Linked DNA regions of Homo sapiens: region 2 is linked to region 1. Evidence: promoter capture Hi-C in human tissues and cell types (Jung and others, 2019). All regions are on one chromosome and are shown on one strand. The core of a region is centred on a gene start or on the middle of the fragment in contact, and the rest is flanking DNA. Distances in the headings are between cores, read along the strand shown. Region 1 holds the start of PGLS (6-phosphogluconolactonase). Region 2 has its middle 7.3 kb from the start of MPV17L2.

The links. Contacts are between HindIII fragments. The study calls those that stand out against the background at their distance.
Region 2: a contact is called between a fragment that was not itself captured here and the fragment with the promoter of PGLS in region 1, in 1 of the 25 tissues and cell types used here (dorsolateral prefrontal cortex).

What each region holds. Positions count from the first base shown.
Region 1 is chr19:17,508,671-17,513,483 of GRCh38, forward strand. PGLS (6-phosphogluconolactonase) reads left to right here and starts at 2,979. Exons shown (of 5, transcript NM_012088.3): 1 at 2,979-3,290. The coding sequence starts at 3,003. It overlaps PGLS-DT (PGLS divergent transcript), which reads right to left and starts at 3,219. Exons shown (of 3, transcript NR_147835.1): 1 at 2,673-3,219. RefSeq lists enhancers at 1,825-2,482, 2,483-3,139, 2,707-2,956, 3,450-3,744, 3,707-3,966 and 2 more and silencers at 3,017-3,146, 3,157-3,206, 3,450-3,744. The HindIII fragment of the contact is 13,558 bases long and covers 1-4,813 here.
Region 2 is chr19:18,183,553-18,188,365 of GRCh38, forward strand. No RefSeq gene overlaps it. Among named protein-coding and RNA genes, the nearest start is that of MPV17L2, 7.3 kb to the right of the region's middle. The HindIII fragment of the contact is 5,661 bases long and covers 1-4,813 here.

The DNA of each region.
Region 1 (4,813 bases), core at 1,729-4,228:
ATTACAGGCGTGAGCCATGGCACCCAGCTGGGCAAGTGAATTCTGACTAATCTCTCTCCAACCTCGCAACCACTTCAGGAAGTGTCACCATGGTCCCCATTGTACAGATGCAGAAACTGAGGCACAAGAAGGGGAATGGACTCATTGCCAGGGGCTCCAGGTGAGACAGTGGCCCAGTGAACTTTCTTGTTCCAAAGCCTCTAGCTGCAATAGTGTCTAGGAAGTTCCCTCCAAGTTGGCCAGAAAATAATCCCAATGACTCTTAGGCTTGAACTCTGTTAGTTTTTCTTATTAATTAACAGACTTTTTGGGTTTTATTTATTTATTTATTTATTTATTTATTTATTTATTGTTTTGAGACAGAGTCTAGCTCTGTTGCCCAGGCTGGAGTGCAGTGGCGAGATCACGGCTCACTGCAAGCTCCTTCTCCCAGGTTCACACCATTCTCCTGCCTCAGCGTCCCAAGTAGCTGGGACCACAGGCGCCTGCAACCACACCTGGCTAATTTGTATTTTTACTAGAGACAGGGTTTCATCGTGTTAGCCAGGATGGTCGTGATCTCCTGACCTCGTGATCCACCCGCCTCGGCCTCTCAAAGTGCTGGGATTACAGGCGTGAGGCACCGCGCCCGGCCTATTTATTTATTTAAGAGGGAGTCTTGCTCTGTCGCCCAGGCTGGAGTGCGGTGGCGCGATCTTGGCTCACTGCAACCTCTGCCTCCCGGGTTCAAGCCATTCTCCTGCCTCAGACTCCCGAATAGCTGGGATTACAGGCATGAGCTACTACGCCTGGCTAATTTTTGTATTTTTAGTAGAGATGGGGTTTCTACTTCATTTGAGAGGCCGGTCTCGAACTCCTCACCTCAGGTGATCTGCCTACCTTGGCCTGCCAAAGTGTTGGGATTACAGGCGTGAAGCACCACGCCTGGCCTATTCCTTTTTTTTTTTTTTTTTTTTTGAGACAGAGTTTTGCTCGTTGCCCAGGCTGGAGTGCAATGGCGTGATCTCAGCTCACCACAACCTCCACCTCCGGGGTTCAAGCCATTCTCCTGCCTCCGACTCCCGAGTAGCTGAGATTACAGGCATGTGCCACCACGCCCAGCTAAGGCTTTGTATTTTTAGTAGAGACAGGGTTTCTCCATGTTGGTCAGGCTGATCTTAAACTCCCGACCTCAGGTGATCCACCTGCCTTGGCCTCTCAAAGTGCTGGAATTACAGGCGTGAGCCACCACGCCCAGCCCTCCTTTCTTTTTGAATAGTCCTGGCACCGTTGCCAAAGATGAGTTGACCATATATGCATAGGTTTATTTCTGCATCAGTTCCAATCATTTATTTATATGTCTATCCTTATGCCAATACCACAGTTTTGGTTATTGTACCTTTTTATTGTTTGAAATGAGAAAGTATGAGTCCTCGTATTTTATTCAATATTGTTTTGGCTATTTTGGGGCCATTTGCAATTTATTATTAATTTTAGGATCAATTTGTCAATTTCAACAAAAACATTGTAAATTTGAAAGGGATTACATTGCATCCGTAGACCAATTTGTGGAGTACTGCCATCTTAACAATATTATACTTTCCAATCCATGAACGTGGAATGTCTTACCATTTATTTAGATCATCTTTAATTTTTTTTTTCACCAAAGTTTTAGTTCTTTTGCTTGTTTCGAGACAGGGTCTCACTCTATTGCCCAGGCTGGAGTGGAATGGCAGGAACACAGCTCACTGCAGCCTTAGTCTCCTGGGCTCAAGTGATCCTCCCACCACAGCCTCCCAAGTAGCTGGGACCACAGGCAGCTGCCACCGGGTCCAGCCTTGGCTTCCCAACGTGCTGGGATTACAGCTGTGAGCCACCAAGCCCAGCTACAGCTCTCAAGAAGTACAGTCTTGTACTTCTTTTATTAAATTTATGCCTACTTTATACTTTATGATGCTATGGTAAATGGAATTGTTTTCTTAATTTGCTACTGATTTTAAAATCCACTACCTGTGTGAGTTGAACTGCGCTTACACACATCACTGAAATATCCCACTCTCAGAAGTGGCCCAGCCTCCCCAGGCCCACCAGGCCTTCTTCCCCTTCCAGCCCTCTGTCCAGGCAAGAACTCGATTGGAGGCCTTTCTGGGCACTCAGAGGGACACACCACCACACTAGGAGGGTTAGCTTAAAAAATTCAACAAGCATGGCCAGGCGCAGTGGCTTTCGCCTGAATGCTACCACTTTGGGAGGCCGAGGCAGGAAGATCGCTTGAGCCCAGGGGTTCAAGATCAGCCTAGACCATATAGCAAGAGCCCGTCCGTCCGGAAAATGTAAAAAAAAAAAAAAAAAAAATTCAACAAGCATATTTTCATCCCCTACTTTTTTTTGAGATGGAGCCTCGCTCTGTCGCCCAAGCTGGGGTGCAGTGGCACGATCTCGGCTCACTGCAACCTCCGCCACCCCGGTTCAAGCGATTCTCCTGCCTCAGCCTCCCGAGTAGCTGGGACTACAGGCGCCCGCCACTACGCCCGGTTAATTTTTTGTGTTTTCAGTAGAGACGGGGTTTCACCGTGTTAGCCAGGATGGTCTCGATCTCCTGACCTCGTGATCCGCCCGCCTCGGCCTCCCAAAGTGTTGGGATTACAGGCGTCAGCCACCGCGCCCGGCGGTGCAGGAATTTTAAAACTCACCAAAATACGCCCTCCTTCAGAAAATCCCTGCCACCTCGATAGGACGTCCTCTTCTTGAGCTCCCCTCTCCGGCCCTCCCTGATACAGCAAGGTTGAGCATTCGGGCACTGGCTTCCCGAACTCACTTCGACTCAGGCACAGCAGGCAAAGATTCAATGGGTAGGGCCGGACCGACTGCCCGACCTTCGCGGTGCTTCACTTGCCTCACTGCGCATGTGCCAAAGACAATCACCCAAAGTACTCGAAACCAAGCGGCAGGGCCGGCCCTTGCGCAGGCGTACTAGCGACGGCCGTAGGGAGCGCTTCCTCCTCCCCGCCGCCGCCCTCGCCATGGCCGCGCCGGCCCCGGGCCTCATCTCGGTGTTCTCGAGTTCCCAGGAGCTGGGTGCGGCGCTAGCGCAGCTGGTGGCCCAGCGCGCAGCATGCTGCCTGGCAGGGGCCCGCGCCCGTTTCGCGCTCGGCCTGTCGGGCGGGAGCCTCGTCTCGATGCTAGCCCGCGAGCTACCCGCCGCCGTCGCCCCTGCCGGGCCAGCTAGCTTAGCGCGCTGGACGCTGGGCTTCTGCGACGAGCGCCTCGTGCCCTTCGATCACGCCGAGAGCACGTACGGCCTCTACCGGGTGAGAGCTACGGGGGCCGCCGGGGATCACGCCGAGAGGGCCACAGCCACCGCCTACACCCCGGCTACGGAGGCCGCCGGGGGCCATGCCGAAAGGGCCGCGCCCACTGTCTGCACCTCGGCTACGGGGGCCACTGGGTATCATGCCAAGAGGGCCGTGCCCACTGCCTGCACCTCGGCTACGTGGGTCGCTGGGGGTCATGCCAAGAGGGCCGCGCCCACCGGTTGCCCTCGGCTACGGGGGCCACTGGGGGTCATGCCGAGATGGTCACGCCCACTGCCTGCACCTCGACTACGGGGGCCGCTGGGGGTCTAGCCGACAGGGCTCGCCCGCCTCCTGAACCCCGCCTACAGTGGGTCCCGCAGGACCTCACTGCGCCCTCTGCCTTTATCTAGGCAGGGCTAGAAATGGTCTACTTGCAGTCCGTCTTCCTGCTTCATCCGGTGGCCAGGCAGAGGGAACGGCACGGGCAAGGGCCTGGAAGGGAATCCGAGTGGCCCATGTCAAACGATGCCCATAACTCAGCCCCGTAGCGGACGGGGGCACGAGGAATCAGGTGTAGAGCCTGAATCTCAGGGTCCTGATCTCTAACCCCAGCGAGTTCTCGGGGATCCCTGGGCAGCTTTGCCGCTCTGATGGCTCTGCTTCCAGGCTGTTCATCTTTGGCTTTGAGCCTCAGGATTCTATAGAATCAGAGGAGCGCGCTCTTTTAAAGACAGGGTAACTGAGGCTTGGAGGAGCCTTGGCCTGGCCGAGGGAAGAGTGGGAGGGGCGGGCTCAAAGGCCAGGAACCTCAAGTCACTTGAGTCTGGCAGCGTCAAGGGACACCCCATGCTGGGTGTGCCGTCTTCTCTTTGCATAGAATCTTGAGCTGATGATGGTTTTGTGGGTTTTTTATTAAGAGAAAAGGCTTACTGAACGCTTTATATGCATCAATTCATGAGTCCGTACCACAGCCTATGAGATGTTACACTCATTTCACAGATGGAGAAACTGAGGCCAGAAGAGGTGAGCTTACCTGCCCAAGGCATCTAGTGACCAGAGGGGCAGCCAGGGTGTGATCCTGCCTCATCTGACTTCGTAGTTGGGTACACATTTAACTTCCGCCTTCCTGTGTGTGTTTTCCAAGAGCATCATTAAAAAGTTTTGGCCGGGTGCGGTGGCTCACGCGTGTAATCCCAGCACTTTGGGAGGCCGACGTGAGTAGATCACCTGAGGTCAGGATTTCGAGACCAGCCTGGCCAACATGGCAAAACTCTGTCTCTACTAAAAAAAAATACAAAAATTGGCTGGGTGCGGTGGCTCACGCTTGTAATCCCAGCACTTTGGGAGGCTGAGGCGGGCGGATCACGAGGTCAGGAGTTTGAGACCAACCTGACCAACATGGTGAAACCTGTCTCTACTAAAAATGCAAAAATTAGCCAGGTGTGGTGGTGCGCACCTGTAATCCCAGCTACTCGGGAGGCTGAGGCAGGAGTGAGGCATGATCAGTGAACCGAGATCATGCCATTACACTCCACCCT
Region 2 (4,813 bases), core at 1,378-3,877, 670 kb after region 1:
GCAGAGATGGGGTTTTGCCATGTTGCCCAGGCTGTTCTTGAACTCCTGGCTTCAAATGACCTACCTCCATCAGCCTCCCAAAGTGCTGGGATGGATGACAGATCTGAGCCACCACCTGGCCAAGCAATTCACTTTTATTGCATGTATTGTTCTTAGGTTTATTTTATAGTTTTACAGTTTACACTTTTATAATCTTCAACATCTAAAGATAACATAAGCCTGTTTGACTAGTCTTAATTTACATAAGCAAATGTGGTTTTCTAAAGTCAATGAAATAGAGCTCCTTTACAAGTTAATCTTTAGGAATTCCATCAAGAGGGAGAAAGTGTTACATACCTATAACATATATATATATAAACATAAATAGGTGCAGTCAGAAATCTTATAGCTTTCATTTTAAAATTATAGCTGTGAGACAGGTGTGATAATACAAAACTCACTAGTTTTTAAAAAAATGGTGGAGCCGGGCACAGTGGCTCACGCCTGTAATCCTAGCACTTTGAGAGGCCGAGGCAGGCAGATCATTTGAGGCCAGGGAGTTCAAGACCAGCCTGGGCAACATGGAGAAGCCCCATCTCTACTAAAAATACAAAAATTAGCCAGGCGCAGTGACTCACGCCCATAATCCCAGTACTTTGGGAGGCCGAAGTGGGCTGATCACCTCAGGTTGGGAGTTCAAGACCAGCCTGACCAACATGGAGAAACCCTGTCGCTACCAAAAATACAAAATTGGCCAGGTGTGGTGGCACATGCCTGTAGTCCCAGCTACTCGGGAGGCTGAGGCAGGAGAATCACTTGAACCCAGGAGACAGAGGTTGCAGTGAGCTGAGATCGTGCCTCTGCACTCCAGTCTGGGTGACAGAGCCAGACTCAATCTCAAAAAATATAAATAAATAAATAAGTGAGATCCAATTTGCATCTGCAGAGGCAGATGAAATGAGTTAAGATTACCTACTCAGATCATGAAAGCTTTGTGCTAACATTTGTAAAGACTGTTAAAATTTTTCACTTGCCAGTTGGTTTCCAAATTGCCCTCTGAGAACACAGTTCTGATCCATTGCAGGGGAGCCCCAAATTTTGGGCTTAGCCCAGGAGGGCTCTTGGCTTCTTCTAGGAAAGTATCCAAGGGTGACCTGGTGGTGTTATACAGCACCTTTTTTTTTTTCCCTGAAAGAGTCTTGCTCTGTTGCCCAGCCTGGAATGCAGTGATGTGATCACAGCTCACTGCAGTCTCCAAATCCTGGGCTCTAGAATCCCCTTTGCCTCAAACTTCTGAGTAGCTGGGACTACAGGCATGCACCACCTATCCGAGCTAATTTTTTAAATTTTTGTGGAGATGGGGTCTTGCTATGTTCCCCAGGCTGGTCTCAAACTCCTGAGCTCAAGTGATCCTCCTGCTTCAGCCTCCCAAAGTGCTGGGATCACAGGTGTGAGCCATAATCCCAGCCTGATAAGAATTCGTCCTTTTCTTTTTTTTTTTTGAGACGGAGTCTGGCTCTGTTGCCCAGGCTGGAGTGCAGTGGTACTTTCTCGGCTCACTGCAACCTCCATTTCCCGGGTTCAAGCGGTTCTTCTGCCTCAGCCTCCCGATTAGCTGGGATTACAGGTGCCTGCCACTACGCCTGGATAATTTTTTTGTATTTTTAGTAGAGACGGGGTTTCACCATGTTGGCCAGGCTGGTCTTGAACTCCTGACCTCAGGTGATCCACCCACCTCGGCCTCCCAAAGTGCTGGGATTACTGGTGTGAGTCACCGTGCCAGCCTTTTTTTTTTTTTTTTTTTTTTTCTGAGACAAAGTCTCACTCTGTTGCCCAGGCTGGAATTCAGTGGTGCTATCTCAGCTCACTGAAACCCCAGCTTCCCAGGTTTCAGTGATTCTCCTGCCTCAGACTCCCGAGTAACTGGGACTACAGGCACACACCACCACACTCAGCTAATTTTGCTATTTTTTGGTAGAGATGGGGTTTCACCGTGTTGGCCAGACTGGTCTTGATCTCCTGACCTCAAGTAATCCACCCACCTCAGCCTCTCAAAAAGCTGGGATTACAGGCATGAGCCACCGCGTCCGGCTGAATTCTTACTTTGCATTGGCTTGTCAGGTCCCAGCATTTCTCCCCTGCAGACCCCAGAGGGAGCAGATATTCCCAGCCAATTGTAGCCCATCCTCATCACCAGAAACTAGCAGGGCTAGAGCTTTCCTCCTCTCTCTGGTGTCTGGCTCAGACTGACAGACAGATTAACAAAACAATAGCACACAAAGCTTATTCATTGTAGATGGGAGCCCTCACGAGAAAAATGGAGACCGAAAAAAGTAACTAGACCTAAGTGTTTGTTTTGAGACAGGGTCTTGCTGTGTCATCCAGACTGGAGTGCAGTAGCGGGATCACAGCTCACTGAAGCCTTGACCTCTCAGGCCCAAGCAATCCTCCTGTCTCAGCCTCCCAAGTAGTTGGGACTAGAGTTGCACACCACCACACCTGGCTAATTTTTTAAAAATTTTGGCCGGGCACGGTAGCTCATGCCTGTAATCCCAGTACTTTGTGAGGCAGAGGCTGGGGGATCACCTGAGGTCAGGAGTTCAAGACCAGCCTGGCCAACATGATAAAACCCGTCTCTAGTAAAAATACAAAAATTAGCCAGGCGTGGTGGCGGGCGCCCATAATCCTAGCTACTTGGGAGGCTGAGGCAGGAGAATCACTTGAACCTGGGTGGCGGAGGTTGCAGTGAGCTGAGATCGCGCCACTGCACTCCAGCCTGGGCAACAGAGTGAGACTCCTTCTCAAAAATAAAGAAAAAATAAAAAGATAGATCACAGAGCCCTTCTGGGCTGGCTGCGGTGGTTCGTGCCTGTAATCCTAGAATTTTGGGAGGCTGAGATGGGCAGATAACTGAGGTCAGGGGATCAAGACCAGCCAGACCAACATGGCAAAACCCCGTCTCTACTAGACATACAAAAATTAGCCGGCCATGGTGGTACATGCCTGTAATCCCAGATACTTGGAAGGCTGAGATAAGAGAATCACTTGAACCCGGGAGGTGGAGGTTGCAGTGAGCCAAGATCATGCCACTGCACTCCAGACTGGGCAACAGAGTGAGACTCCCTCTCAAAAAAATAAAAAGAAGAGCCCTTCTTGCATCCACTGTTTGCAAGTGTGTTTAACTCAAAATTCTCAATATCAATATGCCAAAGTTGTATGCTGGTATGTTATGGGTGACATGTCCTGAACACTATCAACAGAAACATACAAAAATTACTGCCAGGTATCAAAAGCTGCTCTTCCTGGGAAGCAATAAAGTATCTTTTGTTTTTCTGTTTTTGAGACAGAGCCTGGCTCTGTCGCCCAGGCTGGAGTGCAATGACAAGATCTCGGCTCACTGCAACCTTTGCCTCCCGGGTTCAAGTGATTCTCCCGCCTCAGCCTCCCATGTAGCTGGGATTACAGGCACCCGCCATCATGCCTGGCTGATTTTTGTATTTTTAGTAGAGACGGGGTTTCACTATGTTGGCCAGGCTGGTCTTGAACTCCCGACATCAGGTGATCCGCCTGCCTCGGCCTCCCAAAGTGATGGAATTACAGCCATGACCCACCGCACCCAGCCCCATAAATTCTCTTAATTTTATTTTTTATTTTACTTTTTGAGGCAGGGTCTCGCTGTGTCATCCAGGCCAGAGTGTAGTGTCACCATCTCAGCCAGCTGAAGACTCAGCCTCTGGGACTCAAGCGATCCTCCCACGTCAGCCTCTCAAGTAGCTGGGACTACAGGTGTGCACTACCGTACCCGGATAATTTTGTTATCCGGTCTTACCATGTTACCTGGTCTTACCATGTTGCCCAGGCATCTGGGCAACTCCAACTCCTGACCTCAAGCGATCCTCCTGCATCCAGGTCCCAAATGGTAGGATTACAGGCATAAGCCACCGAGCCCGGCCAAGCAACAATTTTTTTTTTTTTTTTTGAGACAAAATCTCGCTCTGTCGCCCAGGCTGGAGTGCAATGGCATGATCTCAGCTCACTGCAAACTCCGCCTCCCAGGTTCAAGCGATTCTCCTGCCTCAGCCTCCAAGTAGCTCAGATTACAGACATGCACCACCACACCTAGCTAATTTTTGTATTTTTAGTAGAGATGGGGTTTTGCCATGTTGGCCTGACTGGCCTTGAACTCCTGACCTCAAGTGATCCACCCGCCCCAGCCTCCCAAAGTGCTCGGATTACAGGCATGAGCCACCGTGCCTGGCCAATAAATTCTTAATTTATCCACCATTGTCTCTCAGCAACCAGTAATCCATTTGTAGATTACCAAATGGTCAGCTCAATGTCAAACAAAACTATGGGAGACCACTGTTTTGGACTGAGCTCCTGCACTAGGCACCAACAGACCAGATGAAACCAGAATGGAGTCACTCGTGCTAAATGCCACATAATCAAACTGAAACTTTGAGGAAGCAGACATATCCCAAACAGATCAGTTTCTTATTTTTTTTTTTTTTAAATTTGTTTTGTAGAGATGAGGTTCTGGCCAAGTTGCCCAGGCTGGTCTTGAACTCCTGGCCTCAAGCGATCCTCCTGCCTCAGCCTCCCAAGGTGCTGGTATTATAGGCATGGTCCACTGTGCCCAGCTGTCTTTCCTAAAAATAGATTTTAGTCTACCTGGGCCGGGCACGGTGGCTCATGCCTGTAATCCCAGCACTTTGGGAGGCCGAGGTGGGCGGATCACAAGGTCAGGAGATCGAGACCATCCTGGCTAACATGGTGAAACCCCCTCTCTACTAAAAATACAAAAAATTAGCCAGGCGTGGTGGCTGGTGCCTGT